Regions from separate parts of the Homo sapiens genome. Here all the other regions are linked to region 1. The links are contacts of gene promoters, found by promoter capture Hi-C in blood cells and fetal thymus (Javierre and others, 2016). All regions are on one chromosome and are shown on one strand. Each heading gives the region's core, a stretch centred on a gene start or on the middle of the fragment in contact. The rest is flanking DNA. Distances are from core to core; before and after follow the strand shown. Region 1 holds the start of LLPH (LLP homolog, long-term synaptic facilitation factor). Region 2 holds the start of MON2 (MON2 regulator of endosome-to-Golgi trafficking). Region 3 holds the start of RAB3IP (RAB3A interacting protein). Region 4 holds the start of MIRLET7IHG (MIRLET7I host gene). Region 5 has its middle 2.8 kb from the start of MIR3913-2. Region 6 has its middle 15 kb from the start of LYZ.

The links. The method cuts DNA at HindIII sites, captures the fragments that hold promoters and counts their contacts. A CHiCAGO score of 5 or more calls a contact.
Region 2: the fragment with the promoter of MON2 here is called in contact with the fragment with the promoter of LLPH in region 1 in 5 of 17 cell types (fetal thymus, naive CD8 T cells, total B cells and 2 more); the score reaches 8.0 in fetal thymus.
Region 3: a contact is called between the fragment with the promoter of RAB3IP here and the fragment with the promoter of LLPH in region 1, in 1 of 17 cell types (total CD4 T cells). The highest score is 8.6, in total CD4 T cells.
Region 4: the fragment with the promoter of MIRLET7IHG here is called in contact with the fragment with the promoter of LLPH in region 1 in 6 of 17 cell types (naive CD8 T cells, naive CD4 T cells, non-activated CD4 T cells and 3 more); the score reaches 12.2 in naive CD8 T cells.
Region 5: a fragment that was not itself captured here is called in contact with the fragment with the promoter of LLPH in region 1 in 2 of 17 cell types (activated CD4 T cells and non-activated CD4 T cells); the score reaches 7.3 in activated CD4 T cells.
Region 6: a fragment that was not itself captured here is called in contact with the fragment with the promoter of LLPH in region 1 in 1 of 17 cell types (naive CD8 T cells); the score reaches 10.2 in naive CD8 T cells.

The regions. Positions count from the first base shown.
Region 1 is chr12:66,128,881-66,132,766 of GRCh38, forward strand. It overlaps LLPH (LLP homolog, long-term synaptic facilitation factor), which reads right to left and starts at 1,870. Exons shown (of 3, transcript NM_032338.4): 1 at 1,825-1,870; 2 at 16-233. The coding sequence starts at 226. LLPH-DT (LLPH divergent transcript) reads left to right here and starts at 1,871. Exons shown (of 2, transcript NR_125724.1): 1 at 1,871-2,095. RefSeq lists enhancers at 1,594-1,743, 1,784-1,893. The HindIII fragment of the contact is 2,232 bases long and covers 214-2,445 here.
Region 2 is chr12:62,465,109-62,468,994 of GRCh38, forward strand. MON2 (MON2 regulator of endosome-to-Golgi trafficking) reads left to right here and starts at 1,718. Exons shown (of 35, transcript NM_015026.3): 1 at 1,718-2,210. The coding sequence starts at 2,100. RefSeq lists a silencer at 1,420-1,739 and enhancers at 1,770-1,879, 1,875-2,374. The HindIII fragment of the contact is 1,301 bases long and covers 469-1,769 here.
Region 3 is chr12:69,736,947-69,740,832 of GRCh38, forward strand. It overlaps RAB3IP (RAB3A interacting protein), which reads left to right and starts at 1,914. Exons shown (of 11, transcript NM_022456.5): 1 at 1,914-2,085. LOC101928002 (a long non-coding RNA gene) reads right to left here and starts at 1,604. Exons shown (of 4, transcript NR_110072.2): 1 at 1,332-1,604. RefSeq lists a silencer at 1,662-2,491. The HindIII fragment of the contact is 14,222 bases long and covers 1-3,886 here.
Region 4 is chr12:62,600,463-62,604,348 of GRCh38, forward strand. MIRLET7IHG (MIRLET7I host gene) reads left to right here and starts at 2,281. Exons shown (of 2, transcript NR_186001.1): 1 at 2,281-2,373. LINC01465 (long intergenic non-protein coding RNA 1465) reads right to left here and starts at 2,972. Exons shown (of 1, transcript NR_121682.1): 1 at 1,289-2,972. MIRLET7I (microRNA let-7i) reads left to right here and starts at 3,224; the gene lies at 3,224-3,307. MON2 (MON2 regulator of endosome-to-Golgi trafficking) reads left to right here. Exons shown (of 35, transcript NM_015026.3): 35 at 1-14. RefSeq lists enhancers at 1,575-2,098, 2,099-2,620, 2,135-2,244, 2,325-2,514, 2,621-3,142 and 1 more and silencers at 2,595-2,904, 2,995-3,294. The HindIII fragment of the contact is 3,704 bases long and covers 1,912-3,886 here.
Region 5 is chr12:69,579,984-69,583,869 of GRCh38, forward strand. No RefSeq gene overlaps it. Among named protein-coding and RNA genes, the nearest start is that of MIR3913-2, 2.8 kb to the right of the region's middle. The HindIII fragment of the contact is 3,759 bases long and covers 177-3,886 here.
Region 6 is chr12:69,330,966-69,334,851 of GRCh38, forward strand. No RefSeq gene overlaps it. Among named protein-coding and RNA genes, the nearest start is that of LYZ, 15 kb to the right of the region's middle. RefSeq lists enhancers at 205-364, 1,205-1,919. The HindIII fragment of the contact is 1,134 bases long and covers 1,393-2,526 here.

The sequences.
Region 1 (3,886 bases), core at 620-3,119:
GAGAAGCACACTCACCTTTTTCATCTTTTACCTCACATTGCATTTTCTCTTGGCAATGTTTGGGTTTGGGTACCACCACAGTTGCTATCTCTTGAACATCTTTCATTAAAACATCACCGTCTAGTTTGAGAATACTTTTAAGCCTGCTGGCCTCCTTTGGGGCATTCTTTTTTCTCTTTTCAGCACGCATCTTTCTTTTCCACTTACTCCGTAAGCTTTTAGCCATGTTTTACCTGAAGTTAACAAAAACACACATTCAAAAGCAAATCTTTAATATAAAAAAGAAAACAGGCAAATCCTTAGAAAACCAGGCCAACAGGTATCTCTACAAAACAAGTGAAAAGTAAAACTCTTCAATCTGTTCACTTTTTAGGACTTAACATGCAACTTATATGAAGATCAACATGGTACATACACAGTCACTAAATAACAAGATATCAAATCAAACTTGTGGTCATAAGCAAACTACAAATCAAACCAATTCTGAAAGCACCTTGCATGTCTTTTTTCTTTTTTTTTTTTTGAGACAGAGTCTTGTTCTGTGTCCCAGGCTGGAGTGCAGTGGCGCGATCTCAGCTCACTGCAACCTCCACCTCTCAGGTTCACGCCATTCTCCTGCCTCAGCCTCCCGAGCAGCTGGGACTACAGGCGCCCGCCACCACGCCTGGCTAATTTTTTGTATTTTTAGTAGAGACGGGTTTTCACCGTGTTAGCCAGGATAGTCTCGATCTCCTGACATTGTGATCCGCCCGCCTCGGCCTCCCAAAGTGCTGGGATTACAGGCTTGAGCCACCGCGCCCGGCTGAATTTCTTTACAAAATACAGAAATTTAATTTCCCCAGAATGCAACAGCGTCATCACCTTACATTTATGCAACAGCTTACAAATTACAAATGATTTTTATAAACACTTCACCTCATCTTCATTATCCATCCTCTCAAGCCAACTTAACGACTGTAAACTTATCTATTCCTACTCTTGTTTTCTTTCCACTCAGTTCCGCCCTAAATCCTCCACAAGGTGCTCAGTGTGATCTTTTAAAAAAGCATTCACTGCCTTTCTTCGAGTTCTTTAAAGACCTCCTCCCTCATATATATTCAAGATCTACAAGGTCATTTGTGATCTGTCCCCTGCCTCCTTCAACTCTATTTCATTTCATTCTCCATCCCCATCCCCGCAGGCACCAACTACGTCTGTAAAGAGTCCAAACTATCTCTACGTCAGTGCCTTCATATTTGCTGTCCCTATGCCTGGCAACTGCTCTTCTCAAGGCTTGCTCCTTCATTCGCTACCTCAGAAAGGACTCCTCTGACCTCCGTAAGCTCCCTTCCCTGCTTATTAAGTGTTACAACCTGAAACCATTGTTTTCTGTCACGCCCCCCGACCCTCTCCCCAGACTGTAGACTCCACGAAGGTAGAGGGAAAGGTCTTGTTCACTGCTGAATCGCACACTTTTTGCATACTTGTTGAACGAACCACTAACATTTTTTGAACGCCGGCAATCACAGTCATTCCGCTCCCTTGTCTACATAACTCAACCCTTGCGAGGGGCTAGGAAAGCGGGCGGCAAACAACCTTGAGGGCCGAAGTTAACTTCAGCGGGAGTGAACGACAGGGGTGGGCTCCACTTTATCCAGTGCACTCGGAAGCCGGAGGGCCCCCACCAAAAAGAGCAAGGGGAACCCTCGCCCTCAACAAGGCCTGCATCTCCGGACTGGAGCTCAAGTATAGCCCAGCGAGTGTCAAGAAACGAAATTCTCCAAGGGTGGCGGAATCAAGCCCCAAGTCCCATGTGTCACTGGACCGGTGAGGAACCGAACTCACCTGAGAAACGAACACCCACACCTCACGCTCACGCCGACCGGAAGTCTTTGCACTTCCGTCTTCCGGGCGGAGGCCACCCGGGGCGGACGCATTGCACGCCGGGAGACAAAATGTCTCAAGAAGCCTTGAGAGGCGGGATTTTGGAACCCGGGCGCTGACGAGCTTCCGCCATTGGTGTGATCGCGGACCTAGAAACTTGGTCCGTCCCATACAGGTGTAGAAGTCGGATTTGGAGAATGCTGACGGGTGTCCGGTCAAGGTTAGGCCCCAGGTAGGTCCGCTTTCCGGACGTGGGCAGGGTAGCCCCGAGACTAACCTATGGAGTGAACCTGGCCAGGGGACCCTACTTGTCAGATAGGGAGCTCCGAGCCGACCTTTAGATCTGACCTCAGCGTTTACATGATACTCATGTATTTCCTTAGATCAAGTCAGCCTAGATCAGGTGTTCTTCCAGAGGCCGTATTGAGATCATTTTTATTTGCAGCCTGTGCATTTTCTCATCTCGGGTGATGGCCTCACAGATGTACACATATGTAAAACCGTATCAAACTGCACACTTTAAATATGTGCAACTTATTGCATGTCAGTTATACTCAAAGCGGTTACCAAAAACAGAAAACAAGCTTTTCCTACCCCAGAGAAGAATTTAAAGGGTAAAATGATCAAAGGATTTCAGTTCTATCAATGTTTACCTGTCTGATCACTTACGTATCAGACACAATGCTAAGCCTAGGACGATTGTCTTAGCTCACGAATAACACTTACTGTACAACTATTTCTACTGGCATAGGCTTTGGAACCATATAGGTCTGTGTTGTACTCTTGCTTCCAACACTTGTGAACGATATGGGTGAGTAATTAATGTCATAAGGGCCTGAATTTCCTTGTCCCTAAAGTGAACATAATACAACCTAATTGATGCTGTAAGAGTTCAACAAATGGTACCCTTTTTACATTATAGTTTCAAAAGTATAGCTACACAGTACTATTTGTAAGCAATGTTTCTAGAGATTTACGACATATACCCAAAAAACATGTCTTTAATGATGGCCTGGTAAACTCCTGCTGGTTGCCAGAAAAAGGGGTTCTGAGGCAATCTATGGGTACCTTTTTTCTTTAAATTTGTGTCCTTTATGAAACCATGCATAGTATGGAAATTACTGAATTCAGAATATAGCAAGGTTAAAGAGGCTGAAAAAAACCTAGAACATTTGATATAAAAAAAGGAAGCATGCCTAAGAAACCTGGTTTATTTAAATGAGATTTCGTTCTTATAAAGCAAGTGAATTTCTGTTTTACAAGTTAACCATATACTGTACCTCATCTTTCAAATGAGAAGTTAGCTACCTCACCCAAAAATATAAGTGCACATTGCATTTTAGAGAAAACTTATATTCTGATAGTCCATATTTACTGTATCTTGTTTAACATACCAGGACAAGACTTTTGAATAGGCACTTGGCACCAGAAAAAATAATTTACCTATTATGAAAATGTCATGTTGTTAAAATACCATGCCATGATTTAGCATTACAAGTGCTTTAAACAGCTGAGTAAAACACCCTTTTACTCCTTTTTACTTATGTCCCCTCACCAGTTATATAAAAGCAGTTCTAGAAAAGTGGCCTTAGTATATTTAAAAGTCTAATTCATTCCTTCATTCATGCCTTTGAATATGCACTCTATTATAGGCACTATGCTGAATTTGCAAAGATGAAGGAAACTAAACTACTGTTTTTGGGAAACTTTATCTCCTAATGGACAAACAAGGCTTAAGGGTCCAACTAAACATTGCAGTGGCTCATCACAGAGCTGGAAGGAGCCTATATATAGAACTAGAGGCACAGTGGGTGGCCCTGAATACCTTACAGGAAGCAGACTGATTTTCTCATCCAAAAGGCATGCTACATGATGCAGAACAGTCAGTGGGGCCCCTGCAGTCAGGCCTCTCCCATGGAATCCCTGATCTGCACAATCAGTAAGGAACAGGAAGACTTCTGGGATTCAGATAGTGACCCCATGTTGCCCATTCCCTAGATAATGGGGACTTCAAGACAAAGCT
Region 2 (3,886 bases), core at 468-2,967, 3.7 Mb before region 1:
AGATCAGCCTGGCCAACATGCTGAAACCCCATCTCTACTAAAAAGAACAACAAACAAACAAACAAAAAGGCCTGCGGTGTGGCTCACGCCTTTGTAATCCTAGCACTTTGGGAGGCCAAGGCAGGTGGATTGCCTGAGCTCAGTAGTTGGAGACCAGCCTGGGCAACACAGTGAAACCCCATCTCTACTAAAATACAAAAAATTAGCCGGGCGTGGCAGCCTACGCCTGTAGTCCCAGCTACTCGGGAGGCTGAGACAGGAGAATTGCTTGACCCTGGGAGGTGGAGGTTGCAGTGAGTGGAGATCGCGCCACTGCACTCCAGCCTGAGTGACAGAGTGAGACTCCGTCTCCACCCCCCACCCAAAAAAAGCGCCTCGTTTTTACAAGCTCCCTGAGACCTCAAGAATAATGTCTGCCATATATTCCATTTGAACTTTTTTGCTAAATTCACCAGTTTTCATACATAAAGCTTATACCATAGGAGGTGTCAAGTTTCCCAGAAGTTGTGTAATAGGCACAAATGATCAAAATTACTGCCCTAGGAGCTCTCTACTATTACCTCATCTGTCCCCTTTATCCATCCTTGCTTTGCTTCTTATCAGAAGGAAAAATAAAATAAAATTATTTAGCTTACAAAGTAGCTCTGTTACAGCCAAACAGCGCTATCCACTGACAATCTCATGGCTCACTGTCTTCCATCATGTCATAAGCTCAGCTGTCTGAAGGTGTTGGTTTCTTCATCTCTACTGTTTCTGGTTTTTCCTCCCTCATTTTCTGCTTTCTGACCAGCAGCTGCAAAATGTCTTGGGGAAAAAGTAGACCAACCTGGATCTTGGGGAAATACAGATGAAGATTTTTCTGTTTGGCTTTTGCCTCATATTTATTTGGCACTTCAGACCTGATGAAGGCTTTTATGTATCTGTGCCTTATTTGAGCCTCGAAACTCTGATTTTATAATAGAAGGGTATTCATTCAACAAGTATGTACTGATTACCTGCTATATGCCAGACACTGTTCTAGGTGCTGGAGATACACAGGAAACAAAATAAGATTTAAAAAGAGGAAGAACCGGCAGCCCAACTCGCGAAACTCTCCTTTTAGCTGGGAGCATCTGCCAGTAAAGGGGCCGGGACAGATCTCGTAGCGCCTGGTAGGTGATTGGAGGAATTTTGGCTTTTACTTTGAGTGAGATGGGAGGCCAGCGGAATGCGTGGAGCAGAGGGTAGTCTCATTTTAGAGATTAGGAAAATAAGAGGCTACCCCACAGTAAGTGCACCAGTTGCGTTTAAAGAAAAAAAATGTATATTAACAGGAGGTAGCCACTGATTTGGGGCCACTAGTCCAGAGATTCGAAATGAAGCGGGAGGAGACACGTTAAGATTAATCTACAGGGAAACAAATTATTTACACCGAAATACAATTTAACACAAACATACGCAAAGAGATATGCCAAGGAGTACTCGGGGGCTCTGTTCAGGCACTTGTTAATGAAAACGAAGCGAATCTTGACGCCTTAAACCCTGTCTAGCCTACTTGATTCCGGGGGTGGGGCTGTGGGAATCGCTGCCCACCCGGAATCCCGCCTGCCCCGAGCATGGCCAAGCCCCAGCCCCGCCCCGCCGACGGCCTGCCGCCGGGGTTGGCCGCGGCGGTGGCGGAGGCCACGGTACCCGGAAGTGCGGCTGACGTGTCCCGGCAGCGCTCGGAATTGTGGGCGACTCGGCTAATGGCGTCGGCGAGTCTTAGGGGCCTGGGGAGCTGGCGCTGAAGCTTCTTGCCAGGTTGGCTGGTGACACCCGGTGTGGCTGGGCCCCGCGGCAGCGGAGGGACCTGCCCGCCTTGTGGGTTTCTCGGCCAGAGTCGGCGGAGCCTAGCGGGACGGTGCGACTGCGGGGGGCGCCTCCGAGAAAAGCCAGAGGTGTTGCGGGGAAGCTGCTGGGGGACGCTCGAGCAGGCTCCGGGTTCGCAGCCCAGGGCCCAAGAAGCGGGCTGCTGAAGGACCAGAGACACCGGGAGGGAGCTGCCTGTGGCCCTAAGGAGCTGACCGTGCCAGAGCTTGTTTGTACCTCTCGGAAATTGGCTGGGACCTTGGAGGATCATGTCCGGCACCAGCAGCCCCGAGGCGGTGAAGAAGCTGCTGGAGAATATGCAGAGCGACTTGCGCGCCTTGTCACTGGAGTGCAAGAAGAAATTCCCACCTGTCAAAGAGGTAAGCTTCAGGTGACGTCAGGAGAAGGCACTGTGAGCATGCCTGGTCCTGTTAGACTCAGTGCTTCACCCCAGTTTCCAGTCCTAATTTTCATTCAGGCCTCACCTTTCCAGATTTGTGAGTCGGTGGGTTGTTCCACAAGGGCTTTTTATAGTTTCCACTGGAGAGGGCTGAGGCACTTTGATTTTCTCCCCTCTCCTGTCCTCCCAGTTTAGGAGTGAAGTTCATGAAGTGAGCCTATTCAGTTAATCCAGCTAGGTGTACTGTGCACTAGCCTATTCTGGCCTTTTTCTTACTTGAAACTGGCCAAACCAAAATTGAAAAACTTGTTTGTTGCTCCCCGAAACGAGTATCCACCCATCTTGTTGAAACCTGTACTCCTCACGTTTATGGCATATCACTGAATTGGAAACAATTTTCCTTCTGGTATATATCATTCAGCTTAACTCTGTATCAATCCTTTGACGTGTTAATAAACTATCCAGAGCCACCTAATTTATGAAGAATATTGAAGATCCACATAATCATGTTAAACCTTGTTATGAGCAGTACTGTAGTGGGAAGTTGGGCTTGCAGTCAGAGCGAATACACCTGAATTTAGTTCCAGCAATAAATCTTAACCTCTTTGAGCTTCGGGTTTTTTTTTCCAGCTGTAAAATAGGGTTAAAGGATGGTTTTATATTATGTATGGGAAAGATGTCAGAGCAGAAGGGTATTATTAAAGAGATCCCAGTAAATAATACATGGAAATTTAATTCTCCAAATAGTTCTTGAGGTGAAATATTTAACATTTGGTTACTATTTGCTTTTTCTCTTAAAATGCCATTTTAATTCTCTAAAAAAAAAAAACAAACAAAAAAACCCACCAAAAACAGGCCCGGCTAATTTTGTATTTTTAGTAGAAACAGGGTTTCTCCATGTTGGTCAGGCGGGTCTCGAACTCCCGACTTCAGATGATCCCCCTGCCTCGGCCTCCCAAAGTGCTGGGATTACAGGCGTGAGCCACAGCGCCCGGCTGTTTTTATTTTTATTCCTATTTAATGTAGTTTGTTTTACCTGCAATTTCATTTACTCTTTGCCCTAAAAATTCACCGAGGGATTTCATATTTACATACTTATTTAAATATATCTTTATTATTATGAAGATTATGTAATTAGAACTTGACCAATAAATTTTGGATTTTAGGCTTGTAAGGAATATTGACTTTTCTGTAAGTGCATTGGTTTTATCAGTTTTCAACAAACTCCATCTTGTATTTCTTTAATAAAGTATTACCCAGTGATGGAAACCAGATGTGCCACTTTTGGAAAGATGGCTGTTACGATATGTTTTATTTCACATAGTCAATAGTCTGTTTTGATATTGATTTTCATTTTTTTTATATCCTCTGTTGAAAGTTATAACAAGTAAATCTAAAGAATTAGGCTGTTTTAGAGAATTTTAAAGAATTAAGTTGTTTTAATTATAAGAGAAATGCTCTCATTTAGAAAATATCAAACACTATTTTGTAATTTCAACAATAATTTGTAGAACTGACTTCGCAGTTCTAATAATTCATACAAAAACTGTGGTTCCTCTATAGGCTGTTGTGGTCTAGCTTGGGAATTTAATTGCCATTTATTACATTTTTTTGTTTTGTTTTTTGATTTTGGAAATGGGGTCTCTGTGGCCCAGG
Region 3 (3,886 bases), core at 664-3,163, 3.6 Mb after region 1:
CCTCATGGATGGTAGGTGATTTGTAAATGGACCAACGCAGGACTCAGGCATATATGGTTACTGCTTACTATTTCCTATAGATCATGATGTCTTAGGTCTTATGTAGAATATATCATAGGACTTGTCCTCTAAACATTCACATACCAAGACTGCACTCTGCATGCATGCCATTCACTCATTCTGCATTTACTGAGTCAGTCCTACTGCATGTCAGACCTTGTGCCTGTTCTCAAGAAGCTCGCAGTCCAGGAAAATGGAGAAATACAGATACAATTATAACTCTATGTGATAAGTGTTACAAAGAGATACGGTGTTATGGAAGCCCTGGTAGGGGCACTTAGCCCATACTGGAGTGGCTGGGATAGGGCTGAGTGGCCAACAATAGGGAAGGGTTCACAGTGGAATTGATGTCTAGGCTAAATAATGAATAACAAATAATTAGCAAGGCAAGGAAAAGGTAGGAGATCAAGACATAAAAATAAACAGCATATGGAAATACAGGGTTGTATGTGAGTACGGCAAGACTGGGGAGCCTAAGTGGTTTGCTGTATATTTAATTTATTCATTTCACGTAGCTACTATTGACATACTTGTCTCCCTATATATGTTTGAGTCCGTGGATGGTGGGGACTTTGTAATGGTTTCTCTGTCCCTATGTCTAACAGGAGGCACACAGATGGAGTGCAATAAAATGTCTGATGAATAAATGACCAGCTATGAGGTGTAAGGGAGAATAGGAATCCATTAATGAGAAAGGTCATTTCTAGTGGCAATGAATATCAGATAAGATAGATTTAAGAATTATTTAGAAATTAGGATGAATAAGACTTGGTGATATATTGGCGATGGGGTATAAAATAAGAAACACTGGCTTTCTAGGTTTCTGGATTACAGATGCATGATAATAGTTATAATGGTATAATAACAATAGCTAATATTTATTAGGCACTCTGTGTCATGAAGTACGCAAAGTGTTTACATGAATTAAGCCATTTAAACTCTTAATGACTCAGTGAGGCAGGTTCTGTATACTCATTCACTGATGAGAAAATTGGGGCTAGAGAGATTCATTTGCCTAAGGTCACTCAGCTAGCAGGTGGCAGGCTCAAGCCCAGTAATTCTGACTCCAACAACCATACATATAGTCTACTTTTCTTTACTGCCTCTAATAGATGAGATTAATACCCAGAATGATGGTCCTATTCAATAAGTGTATCACACAAATGCACGTTTCTCTTTTGCTAAACATAGAGACACATACTATGACTACCTCTATTATTATTATTTTTTTTTGATTTTTGGGATCTTGGCTCTTTCTGTATTTTTCCTACCTGGAAGACCTAAAGTGGGGTAGAAGTTTGATAAAACAGTTGGCACAAAAGATGAGAGAAGACAGGTACAGACATGACATTCTCGAACGCTCTGGCAGTTGCTGGAATGATGGGATCTGGGTTCTACAGGATTCCTCCCCTCCCATCTCCCGCCACACACACACACGTCGTAAGGTGTATATGGCCGCGGAGTCTCAGGTTGGTTCTAGGAGTCCTCAACCCACGGCAAAGGTGCCTCTTCTCCCTCCTGGAGAGCCCAACATGCTTGAAGTTAACCTGAGGCCGCCTCTCGGGCCCGGCGAAACAGAGCGCGGGCCCGACGAAACAGAGCGCGGGCCCGACGAAACAGAGCGCAGCTCCGGCTCGCGCTGGTTCCCAGGGAAACCGCCCGCGGAGGAACCTCGGGCCAGGGCCGTGACACCTGCGACGAGCCCCGCCTGGCGCCAGGGGGCGCGGAAGCGCGTCCGCCCCCAGGCCCCATGCCGGGCTCGCCCCGCCCCTGCCGGCCACACCCCCCTACCCCGCCCTCCCTCCGTGAGGACCGGCCGCTCCCGGCTCCCGGCCCCCGGCCCCGCTTCCGGCGCAGGCGCAGTCCCGCGTTCCCTCGGCGGCTGCCGGCGTAGTGAGCCCGCCGCCGTGGAGTGTAGCGGAAAGGGCTCGCCGTCCTCCTCCGTTTCTCGCTGCTTCGGGACGCGCTCTCTGCGGCTCTGTGAGCGCCCCTGAGCGCCGGCAGCGGCCGCGGTGGGTTCTTCAGGTGAGTGCGGCCGCGGGAGGGAGAGGCCCGGAGCGTAGAGCACCGCCCCCCTCGGCGCCCGCGCGCCCGCCTCTGGCGAGTCGGCCAGGAGGGGCGGCCGCGGCAGGTGCAGGTGCTGGCGCCGTGCAGGGCGCGGCACGCGGGGGTTCGGGGGGATGCCCAGGCCCGGTGAGCTCGCTCTCCGCCTGGGCACTTGGGCTCCGGGCCCTTGGGGGCGGCGTGTGGGGGGGACTTTGGCGACCCGGGTCAGCCGGCCGCCCCCTGGGCTGCTGGTGGGCGTCGGGCGGCGGCTCCTCCCCCGGGCACGGGCGCGTTACACATTAACTGCGCGGTCCCGCGCGCCCGGGGCAGGGAGCCCGAGTCCAGCGGGTTACCTGGCGGCGGGCGGGCGCGGCCGGGAGCGGAGGGCCGCGGTCGCGAAGAGGATGAAGAGAGAGTTCCCGAACAAGTCGGAAGCAGCTCACAACACCGGACGCCGCGCGGCAGGGCTGTGGACCTGGGGTGGTTTCGTGTCCCAGTCTTAGGAAACTACGCGCGAGGCACCGTGCTGAGGCGTAGAGGTCACCCTCGGGAGGTTTCGGTGAAACCTGGTGGGAAATTCCGGGCAGGCGCCCGGAGTCGCGCCCAAGTAGGCAGCTCCGTGCCGCCAGACTTGTGTTCGGGGGAGTTGAGACGAACTGCACGGGTGGGATTGCATGGCTCTGCCCTCCCAGCGTTGACAACTCGCCCCGACCGCCCAGGAAGCGCGAGCTTACTGGCTCCAGAAGTGATGATGCTGGGTGGAAGTCGCAGCATGTGAAGAGTTGCCGGTTGTTATGGGATTAAAAAAGATGAAAGGGTAAGGTCTTGAAAGACACGAGCGCTGAGTTAGTTAGTACTGATTACTGAGAGGCAATTTAGTTTCATGGAAATGTTGCCTGTTCGGAGGCTACCTGTTATACACTCTCCTGTTTCACCCCAACTCCTTCCGTTCAGTGTCGGGTTAAAAGCCTTGTAATCTCTTGCAGTGGAATGATTGCATAATTGGAGGAGGGGCCCATAAGAGGATTACAACAAAACTGTTCCATTGTAAATCAGTTGAAAGACCCAGTTCTTGTTCATTATCCTTTTTCTCATTTTGTTGTTCATGAAGGTTTTTTTTTCTTCCAGTGCTGAATGACAAATCAAGGAGAAAAGAGGCAGAATAGGGTTGTAGACCAATCGTAGTAAATATTTGATACTGTTAAATATTTCACCAGTTTTATGGGGCCTTGTTCTGTTATCATTTGTTATTTATTTACTAGTACTGTGCATTTTGATAGGACTTTTCATGTTTGGACAGACAGTGTATTCCAGATGCGGCTTATGTGATCTAATCCTAAAGCCCTTGTGGAATTTATAGAAATAAACAGTTATACAATTAAGTAGTCCATTTTTTAACTATTAAATGAAAAGCCATTGCATTTTTTTCCATTACAGTAATGTTACATATTAATGTATACCTTTGTGAACCAAAGTGTTTGATACAACTCTTCCTTCTGTGTTTGGTAAACAACTCATCTGTGGTACTGAATACTTGTAATCTTTCACCAGGATGGCCATTTAATGTTTAGCTGCTTTGTGGGATTTCTGAATAGATCCTATTGTACTTTTTGAATTAGTGCAGTTATCCATATGTTTCCTTTAATATTCTTTACCTTTGATTTTGTCTAAACTCTCATCCTCCCCCAACACACACATCCTCTACAAATAATTTTTAAAATGGAAAGGTTCTTAGAAATGTTTCACCCCCTCATTTTTTAAATATGGCACGAAAAAATAC
Region 4 (3,886 bases), core at 1,031-3,530, 3.5 Mb before region 1:
TGGTGTATCACTAACAACTGTTTAGACCCTGTTTTTGCGTTAAGCATTGGGTTAGTCTCTGTCCTCATGGAGTTTTCAGTTTTATAGGGAATACAGACCTTTTAACAAGTATGTAAAGTACAGTAAAAGACAAGTACAGATTAAAATGAAATCATAAAATAGGAACCTTAGCCTAGTCTTCTGTGGTTCAGGTTAATAGTGCTGTTAGTAGTCAGAAGGAAGTTTTTTAAAGAAATGAAAAAGCTCAGTGGTTAAGATAGAAATTAAAGTTAGTCTTGATGGCTACCTAGATTTTGGATGAGTTCAAAGGATATACGGAGGGATTTCAGGCAAGATAATGTGAGCAAGGCATATCTGTGAAATAGAAAACAGTGCATTTTGGTGTATTGTGTGAAACAAGGTTGGTTGTGAAGGATTGGGTCCCTTCATAAAATTCCTTGAAAGCCAAGGAGAGTAGTTTAGATTTGAGATGGCAGGGTCTGGAGTGATTTAAGAATAAATTATAAAACCAAGGAAGATAAACTTGCAATCATAAGCAGGATAGGATATATACAGTATGGAAAGCTAAGCTAGAAAGCTGTTGCAATTTTCTTGCTATGAGGTGATGATAAAGAATTGATTAACGGTGGTCATATTCAGAAAGGATACTTAAGATTCCTGATATGCAGGGAGGGGGGAGAAAAAGTTGATGGTAACAGTACATTATATGTGGATGATGAGTATATTGGTGTTAGCACTGTTAAAAACATTATGGAAAGGAATGTAAGTGATAAAGTAGTATAATGACTAAATTTAGTTGGAAACTACTGCTGTAACAAATCTGTATACCATAGACCAAACAGGTGTTTAGTGGCCATTTAAAAATCTGTGCCATTATGGCAAAGGACATTTGCTTTGGTACAGAATAATCTGATCCACTGCGCAGTCAATGAGCAGTGAGGGTTGATTCCCATGGCAGTCCAATCTTTGCTTATCAAGGAAGGATGGTGTGAAGTTTCTACAGACTTTCTGGTAAGTGATTGATAGATGAGTTTATGGTGTGATTGAGTTTTTGCTTTGAGTTTATGCTTAGTGATTGATAGGTGAGTTTATGCTTTGTCAGGTAAAGCATTTAACTGCAAATGTATTATGTTTACACAAATATTCTTAATTGGAAATAGTTTCTGAATATGCACCTAAAAATGTTCTTATGAAATATGTCAGGCAGGCTGATTTTTAACTTGAAAACTTCTACTTTAAGAAATTGTTTGGGTCCCATCGCCTATACCATGTAGAATAGAAACAAAAAGCCAGTTATTTAATTTTTAATTTGCAATTAAACTCTTGGCCAAGAGGATCTGTTGTCCAAAATTACATCGTGATAGCTTAAGAAAAAAAAAATCTTACTTTGCCAGAAAGGGAATTATACAAGGATATCTTTATGAGTTGCTGCCAAATTTTGTTCTAGACCACGGCCCTCTGGCCTCCATGAAGGATCAAAGTCTGGGCAAAGACAATTCTAAGTTGTAGGTAAACATGCTTTTCATTTCCCTCCATTCCTTACTTTTGTCATAAGCAGTCTGGATTTTCAGGGGTAAAGGCTGATAGGGTTGCCAGATACAGTCATTAAAAATTGAGAATGTGCAGTTAAATTGGAATATCAGATAAACAATTTTAAAAATATATGTAACACACATATGCCAAAACACTGGTTATCTGAAATTCCAATTTAACTGGGCGTCCTGTATTTTATCTGACAAGCCCTAACTACTTCTTTAAAATAATTTGTTAACTTCCTACAAAAAATCTCTAAATGGGAGGAAAAAAAAAATCCCGTAAGTTGTCTGGGCCAAAAGCAGAAGTGGCTCCATGGCAGTCAGCCTTCTCCCTAACTTGGCTTAAAAAGAAAAAGCCAAAACCAGAAGTCCCAAAAGCTTGCGTTTAAAGCGGGCTGTGCCGCAGCTTTCCCGCCTGTTTTCTGCGGAATGTAGCACGGCAGCCACCCCGCGTGGGTGGGGCTCGTATGGTTGTGTCCTTGCTGGTTGGGAAAGGAGGTGCCGGAAACTTCAAACCACGGCCAGGGTACAACGTGTCCGCTTAGGCGGCGATATGCGCCGCCATCTTCTTTGCGGGCAAAGGCCGAAAAAAGTTTGGGACTCCACTCCCCCCCGCTGAGCCGATGGAGGGCATCGCCCGCTGCCTCAGCACTCTGGTGACGTGGAATCGGGGTCCCCTCTTTCAGGGCTGATTTCTGGTAGCACGCTGACGCCTGCCAAGGCAGGGAAAGGGGACGCCGCCTCTGTCCCGGATGTAAGATGGCGGCGCGGGGGGCGGCCTGGCGGGGCGGTCACGTGGTGAGGAGTAGCGCGCGAGCCTCCTTAAGTGATCTCTAAGGTTCGTCCGGACGCACAGGAGCAGCGGAGCGCGAGACGGGTCTTGTGTCCGCACGCGTCGAGTCGTCGCAGTCGCCACCCGGGCCATCGCCGGGCCCGGTTTCACTGTTAAGGGGTTTTCGTTTGTTCCGTTTTCGCCTCCTGTAGAGCTGAACGGGAATTCCCCGAAGGGTGCTGGGGAACGGGTGGCCTGGGGACTTCCCGGCTATGCCTTGGCTGCTGTTTGGCGGAGCCGGCGGCAGCCTCTGCGGGATGCCCGCCGGCGATTATCGGCGCCGAGAGCGGGCCGGCGGCGGGTTCGACAGCGCGGCGCGGGTGGGGGCCCGGGTACCGGACTCGGCCGCAGCCCAGCCCCCACCGGGGACTCGGAGCAGGGAGGGGCGCGAGCGGCGCAGCTCGGGACGTGGCGGCAGCTCCTAGCGGGCGAAGCGCGGGAGCGCTGCTCGCTGCCTCTCGGGGGCAGTCCAGAACCAGTTGGTGTCTGACTGCGCTTTTGCCGCCCATTTCCTGCTTTCGAGCGGCTGAGGCGACGCGCTCCCCTCGGGCAGTGGAGGGAGCGGCTCTCTCCGCAGGACACCGCCGCTTTTCTCTCTTCAGAGCGGTGGCTGACGTACAGAACGCCGGCTGTATCACCCGGGCGCCGGCGCCGCCTCTCATCCCCGTAGCTCTCGGGGCGCGCCGGGAGTAGCCGAGCCGCTGGGTGCTGGGCGGGGTCTCCGGGCGCGGCGCGGGGGGAAGGCAAAGGAAAAGAAGGGGCGGCGGGCCGACGTCGGCGGCGAGGAAGGACGGAGGAGCGCCGGAGCCGCTTTGCTGCCCTCCGCGTGGTCCCGTGCCTCCCCGACACCATGGCCCTGGCTGAGGTAGTAGTTTGTGCTGTTGGTCGGGTTGTGACATTGCCCGCTGTGGAGATAACTGCGCAAGCTACTGCCTTGCTAGTGCTGGTGATGCTCAGCGCCGCGGAGGACAATGGCTGGGAATCCCCTTTGTTTTCCGGGGCGCTGCCTGGGGACAGCCCGCGAAGCCTCGGCGCCCGGCCGGCGCGGCCACCACGGAAACCGTTAGTTTCACATTTTCCTAGAAGGAATTGAGGGGAGTGGGGTGGACCGCGATGCATTTTAAAGGTTGGGAAAGAGCTAAGCCATTGGATTCCTTTTCTTGAAGGAAGGAGTGGAATTGTGTAAGATAATTGATACAGATAACTTTTTCACCCTAAAAAATTCTAACACTTCTTTCAGCAGTTAAATGCCAAATTTAGTGTGTACCTGTTTTACTTCATTCTTTAGCTGTAGGTTGGAGTGGTGTGAGCGATCTGCAGAACTGGCATTAGAGGGGCAGAAGAAGTAGACCTGATAATTAAAGTTTATGCCTTAACATTTTAGATCTGGTTTCTGATATGCTCTCTTAGTAAATCTGAGTGTGTCTTTAAAAACGTAAACCCAAAGCAATTTAAAGTTTCTCTTTAAACTTTGCAACTCGCGAATGAGAAGATTGAAATTATTTGTAGGTAATTGCAC
Region 5 (3,886 bases), core at 806-3,305, 3.5 Mb after region 1:
GTTTTTAGCCACTGAGTGACATTGCAAAGCCTTAGTTGAGTACAGGTCAAGATGGAAATTATTTAAACAATGAAGGAGATGGACATGTCCACAAGTGATTGATGTAACTGGCATGATAAAGACACACACAAAGGAAGGGCATCCAACTCAGCCTAGGGGTGGAGGTTTTCAAGCAAAGCTTCTTAGAGGGGGTGATCCCTGAGGTGGTTTGTTGAAAGTCTTTGTAGCTTAGAGAGGATGTCTTAGGGAGAAGGGATAGCATGTGCAAAGGCACAGAGGTATAGAAAGATCATGACATTCAGTGGTTGCAAGAGGTTCCAAATGACTAAGCGCATGGAGAGCAAAGGCAGGGTTGGGGGATACAGAAGAAAGGAGAAATGAGAAACAGATCACAGAATCCTAAGGAGCTTTTGTTTAAATTAGGTGAGAGAACTTGAAGGATTTTAAACACCAGAAAAATAATAGTTTAGAAAGATTTCTCTGACAACATGGATACGTGAAGGGCGCAGTATTTTTTTTTTTTTTTTTTTTTTTTTTTTTGAGACGGAGTCTCTCCCTGTTGCCCAGGCTGGATGGAGTGCAGTGGCGCCATCTCGGCTCACTGCAAGCTCCCCCTCCCAGGTTCATGCCATTCTCCTGGCTCTGCCTCCCAAGTAGCTGGCCCTACGGTATTTTAATAAAGCAGGGAGACTGGTTGAGAGGCTTTTTCAGAAATGGAGCCAGATCTGATAAATCCGTATTCAAAGGCATTGTTAAAGGACTGTTTAGATTGTTTACTGCTGTGCAACAAACCACCCTAAAAGTTAGTGGCTTAAAGCAGCAATCATTTAATGTCTCAAGTTGCTATAGATCGAGATGGGCAGGGCACAGCAGAGATGGCTCATCTCACATGATGTCTGGAGGCCTGGCTTCCTCATATGCTTTGTGCCTATGCTAGTATGATTCAAGCAGCTGAGGGCTGGCTGGACCAGTTCCACTAGGTTATGTCTGGAACTTAAAGCTCTCAGCTGTGTTCCTTAGTTTTCTTCCATGAAGTCTTGGGTCTTTCTTCATGTGGTCTTCTTACATGGCAGCTTAGGGTTCCCAAGAGCACAAAAGTAGATGCTGCTAGGCTTTCTTGAGGCCTAAGCCCAGAACTGGCACAATGTCAATTCTGTTGTATTTTGTTGAATTACAGTGGCTCATATAAAAGCATGAACATCAAAAGTGTAGTTTATTCAGGGCCACCAATGTAATAGAGGGCCTAAAGGAGGAAGAATTAACACCTCTGATTGATAAGGGGAATGACAGAAATGGAGGGGTCAAGGATGACCCCCAGTTATCTGGTTTGGGTGACTGAGATGGTTGATGGTGTCAGTTCATTGAGATTTAAGATATATTTGGGGGCTGGGCATGGTGGCTCATGCCCGTAATCCCAGCACTTTGGGAGGCTGTGGAGGGTGGATCACTTCAGCCCAGAAGTTTGAGACCAGCCTGGGCAACATGGTGAAAACCTGTTTCTATGAAAAAATACAAAAATCAACTGGCGTGGTGGTGTGTGCTTGTAGTCCCAGCTACTCAAGAGACTGAGGCAGGAGGATAGATTAAGCCTGGGAGGTTGAGGCTGCAATGAACTGTGATCCTGCCACTGTGGTCCAGCCTGGGCAACATAATGAGACCCTGTTTTTTTTTTTTTTAAAGTGCTCCTCTAAGTGTGCTCCACAGACTGATTCCTGTGTACAAACTATCACGGTCTGCAACAGGAGAAATATCAAGTCTTCTAACCTTCTCCCTACTACCCAAACAGTAGGTGTCTGGGTGGACCCAACTTAATGTGACTGTGGACTCCTGGTCCTTTATTTGGTTTCCTTCCCCAGGTATTCTAACTGTTCCTGAGGAATGTTGACAAGTCCCATAACTCTGTTCTGGTGGTTGTTTGCCACTTCGCCAGTTATTTCACTCCAGTTAATGAATCTACCCTTGCTCCCAAATCACCTCTAGCCATCAAATAATGATATGCTACAGTGCTTTCCTACTTCCATAACATGCCAAGCATATCCAACCTCGGCTACTATATTTATAAAGCCTATTAGAAGACTTGGGATATAATGATAACAATAGCTAAGCTAAACAGGCACTGTTCTAAGCTATTTAATCTGTGATAATTATCTCCATTTTACACAAAGGGAAATTGAGGCACAGAGAGATTATATAACTGGAAGCTGACCAGTTAACAAAAAGCCAATTCACTGAAAGCCAAATTATACCAAGGGGAAGAGAGAGGAGGACACAGGGTCATAGAGAGGAGAGGGTCACAAAGACTTTGAGGGAGGAGGAAGGGTTAACTAAGAGAAGCCAAGACCAAGGGACTTGAGAGTAGAGGACAGAAGATGAGCCAGGAGAAAGTCACACAACGTGTTTAATCACAGAAACATGGATTCCCAAGGTCTCACTATCTCCATAGGCCCTGTAACCTATCTAATACAAATTACGATAAAATGTATAAATAGATGGGCACAGTGGCTTCTGCCTGTAATTCCAGCACTTTGGGAGGCCAAGGTGGGCAGATCGCATGAATTCAGGAGTTCAAGACCAGCCTGAGAAACATGGCAAAATCCCGTCTCCACCAAAAATACAAAAAATTAGCTGGTGTGGTGGCGCATGCCTGTATTTCCAGCTACTCGGGAGACAGGTCGGAGGATCGCTTGAAGTCAGGAGGCAGAGGTTGCAGTGAGTGGAGATCACACCACTGCACTCCTGCCTGGGTGACAGAGTAAGACCCTGTCTCAATTAAAAAATATATATATAGGTGTGGTGGCTCATGCCTGTAATCCCAGCACTTTGGGAGACTGAGGTGGGCAGATTGCTTGAGGTCAGAAGTTCGAGACCACCCTGGCCAACATGGTTAAACCCTGTCTCTACTAAAAATACAAAAATTAGCCAGCTGTGGTGGTGCATGCCTGTAGTCCCAGCTATTTGGGAGGCTGAGGCAGGAGAATTGCTTGAACCCGGGAGGCGGAGGTTGCAGTGAGTTGAGATCATACCACTGCACTCCAGCCCGAGCGACAGAGTGAAACTCTGTTTCAACAACAACAACAACAACAAAAAAGTATAAACAGCTAAAAGAGACAGTTTTTGGTAAACCAGCACATTGATCACGCTCTGAATGGCCTTCAATGAACTGATTTAAAGAGCCTGTGAAACCCACCCAAGACTACAAAGCTAGTACGTAAAATGGTTGAAATTCAAACTCATATAGTCTGGGTCTAGAAGCTGAGTGTTTAGCCTCTAGGTGTAGAGGTGTCATCAAAGGAGGGGGAAGTAGGAAAGAAGGAAGGGTCAAAAGATGCAATGGAGAAAGGACACATTTCCAAGGGTCCCATCATAGAGTCTCTTCCTGGCTGCCTCTAGCCTCAGTTCCACAAGGTGGCAGGGCCTGCCTCCTTCTCCCCATCCAAATGCCTCTGGCTACATTCAAAGCCCAGCAGGGAGCAGTCATTGGTTTCCCCATCACACACAGTCTCAGGCTTGCCTACCAGAGGACATAATAAATATCTCCAGGTATGTAATTTTGCCCACAATAAAAACAACCTTTTTCAATATTGTGCAGGCATCTTAGTTTTTTATTGTGAATCTTCTCATTCCAGAATGCGATTTGGGATCTGCCTAGGAAAGTACATTTCCTGAAAGAAGACCAAATTTTCCTACAAAGAAGAGAAAACTCTTGGGAGATTTAAAATAACAATTTGTCCAGCCTGAACTCCCCTTTTCATGTTGGACCTGAGGAATACTGTAAACCAGGGTCAGCAAACTTTTTCTGTAAAGAATTAGATAATACATGTTTTAGGTTTTGTGGGCCCATTCAACCTGTCATGACTACTCAACTCTGCCACATAACTCTGCTATC
Region 6 (3,886 bases), core at 710-3,209, 3.2 Mb after region 1:
GGCCATTATCAGAAAAGAGGTTTTTCAAATTCTTACATTTTACTTAAATTTTAGCAGAGAATTATAATCTGGGATGTCGCTTGTAAACAAGGAGCACTTGCCTTGGGTCACCTGCAGAGCTAGAGAGCTGAGCCGGCGGGTCCCTGGGCGGTAGCTGTTTTACTCTTGTAAAAGCGCTGCCTTTTGCCTGTGCTGGCTCTGTTTCTGTGAACTTCCGGGCTGCCGAGCCTTTCTTTTTATTTACTGCTTGCTCGGCTGCACGGCTTTCGGCTCCTAATGCCTTTTTTCTTATCTTTTTATAAACATACACCTGATTGCCTTGCCGATTCTGCATTACTGGGCAGAGTAAGAGCTCTGCTTCTAATGCTGCCCGCTTAAGACAGGGACTGATAGCTGTAGCATATCCTAGGTCTTTTTTCCTATCTATTGGAGGAGGAGGCTCAGGTATAAACCCCCGTTTCCTCTGTTATTTCGGCCCGGTGATATTAGGGTGGAGGGAAGAGGAGGTGATAAGGCAGGTGACATTTTCTCCTCCTTGCTCTTTTTAGGCTCTTCTGCGTGTAACAGAGCTAAGGCTGCTCTAATTAAAGCCTATAACGTTAAAGCTGTTACTGGGACCTGTTGCCTTTGCACATGTTAAGATTTCTCCCCATTTGTTCCCAGAGTTCTACGTCTAGCGTTCCTTCTTCCGGGAACCACGGGCTTGGGATCACAAGAGTTTGCATTGCAACAGTTTGTCTAGCATGGATGATTAGGTCCCTTAATTGAGCCTGTGAAACTGAGGCTCCGCTAGCCTTAAGTAACTGTTTTAATACTTTCATATAATGTTTCTGCTGTGCTAATAACTGTGGTCCCATGATGAAAACTCAGCTTGACCCAACTTCCCCCAGAACTTGGTAACTTTGAGTGGGCACCAATGACTTGCTGATTACTCACTGACTTGACCGCGCGGTTCCTTTCTTCACCTTTGTTTTCCGGGGGGTCCGTCGCTTTTCCTTCACGCTTCCTTCGCAGCTTTCCTCATGAGGGCAGTCCTCACTCTTCCTAGGCAGCTTGCCTCAGGAGGGGCTCCAACTGCGGGGAGTCTGTTTCTGCAGACCCCTGACTGGCCTCACACGGCTTTCCTCACAGGGCTTTCCTCACACGGGTTTCCTCACACAGGCCACCAGCTGAGGTATTGCTCCTCACACGTGAAGGCATTAGCCGCGGGGTCTGCCCTCAGACCCTGACCCAAACGACAGATGAATAAAACGTACACTGACACACAGATATTCTGTTTTGCCAGTCCAGCTGAGTGTCCAGCCGCCTGCACACCTAGAGAGGTTTGTCACTGTGGACGGCCCTGAGCAGCTCGAACTCCAGGCATTTATTTAGTATACAATTAACAACAGAAGCTTTGAGTAAACTTGAGTAAACACACTTTGAGTAAACTTGAGTAAACACACTTGTGGATAATTAACATGGTTAAGAGAGTAGTTCTAGGAATGATTAAAACTCAGGTACCACGGTCTCAGGTAAATACTATCAGGCCTCTCAGCCCAAGCTAAGCCAGATGGCCTGAAGCAACTGAAGATCCACAAAAGAAGTGAAAATAGCCTTAACTGATGACATTCCACCACAGTGATTTGTTTCTGCCCCACCCTAACTGATCAATGTACTTTGTAATCTCACCAACCCTTAAGAAGGTTCTTTGTAATCTCCCCACCCTTAAGAAGGTTCTTTGTAGTTCTCCCCACCCTTGAGAATGTACTTTGTGAGATCCACCCCCTGCCCACAAAACATTGCTCCTAACTCCACCGCCTATCCCAAAACCTTTAAGAACTAATGATAATCCACCACCCTTTGCTGACTCTCTTCAGACTTAGCCCACCTGCACCCAGGTGAAATAAACAGCCTTGTTACTCACACAAAGCCTGTTTGGTGGTCTCTTCACAGGGACGCGTGTAACAAATACCATTAGGGGGCAATATCCTTGGTAGACCTCCCCAGAGAAGGCCATCTGGCTCAAAGGTTAGTTAATTGAAGTTGGGTAAACAGACTTAACTGGGGAAGCCTCTGTTGTCCCTTGTATTTACCCTATGACCTAATGCTCTAAGGTAAGAACTGGCCGCCTTGGCCTGTTCAATTATTACAAGCTATGTAAACTTTCGGCCTTCTAAAAGGTTTGTGACTATTTCCTATAACTTTCCCTAATATTTCCCTTTATTCTTTCTGCCACCATCCTGAGTGAATCCCAACAGTTTTCTCCCCTTGCAAAATGTACCACGTTCAAAAGTTTGAAGATCACTGTCTTTATTATCATCTTGCCTTTCATTTTGGCCTTCCTTCTCCAAACACGCACACACCCCCACACACACCAAATCACTTTAGTCTGTCCTAGCAAAAAGTGATCTATGGTCCTTTTTGGCACACAAAAAAATACAATTGTGTCATTCCTTTTACTCGGAAGACTTCAGTTTTTACATTGCCTTCAGCAGTGATTATTAACCTATTTTAGGTACTTATACTTTTGAGAATAAATAATAAAGCTTTTTACTTTCTTCTGAGAAAAATATGCAATATAATTTTATATAATTTTGGAGGTTTAGCAACACCTCTGAAGCCTATCCATAGATCTTCTAGGGATCCTTCACCTAACCTATACAATAAAAATGGAATTTCCTTTTAATAGCATAAAAGATTCTTCATTTACCCAGCCAAGCTCTTCACTTCCACTTTCTACTTTGAAAGGAACTTCCACAGCATACCATATTCTTTCTTATACCTTTTTTCCTTTCTTTTCTTTTTTTATTTTATTTTTTATTTTTATTTTTTTTTGAGACAGAGATTCCTTCTGCAACCCAGGCTGGAGTGAGTGCAGTGGCACAATGATGGCGCTACCTCGTGAGCTCAGGTGATCCTCCTACCTCAGCTTCCAGAGTAGCTAGGACTACAGGCATGTAACATCATGCCTGGCCAATTTTTTTTTTAAGAGACAGAATCTCACTATGTTGCCGAGGCAGTGTTTATTTTTAAATAAACTTTTAATTTCAGCATAGTTTGAGATTTACAAAAAAATCCTGAAGATAAGACAGTTCATTTCTGTATTCCCCACACCCACTTTCCCTTATTACTAACATCTTACATCAATAAGGTACCTTTGTTACAATTAATGAACCAATATTGATATGTTATTATTAGCTAAAGTTCATACTCTATTCAGATTTTTTAGTTTTTACCTAATGCCCCTTTTCTGTTACAGGATCCTATCCAGGGTGGCATATAACATTTTGTTGTTGTATCTCTTCTGGCTTCTCTTGGCTGTGACAGTTTCTCAGAATTTCCTTGTTTTGATGAGCTTGGCAGTTTTGAGTACTCATCAGGTATTTTGTAGAATAATCTTCATTTGAGGTTTGTCTGATGTTTTTCTTATGGTGAGACTGGGGTTATATGTTTTGGAGAGAAAGACCACAGAGGCAAATACCATTTTCATCACATCATATCAAGGATGCATACTTATCAATGTGGCTTATCACTGTTGATGTTAACATTGATCTACTGACTGAAGTAGAATTTGTCAGGTTTCTCTCCTGTGAAATTATTCTTTTCCCTCGTTTCCATACTGTATTCTTTGGAAGGAAGTCACTATGCACAGCCTCAATACTTCCTTGAGGGCAGAGTATCTACATAAAGTACTTGAAATTCTCCTGCATGGAAGATTTGTCTATTCTTCCTTTCTTTTATTTTTAAATATGTTTACCTCTACCTGGAATGCTGAAATAACACAATTTCAAAATGTCAGTGGCTTAACACGCATTTTATTCCTTATTCATTCCAAAATGCCTATCACAGTTTAGCAAGTGGCTCTGCTCCACATAGTCACTCAGACGCTCAGGCTGCCGGAGGT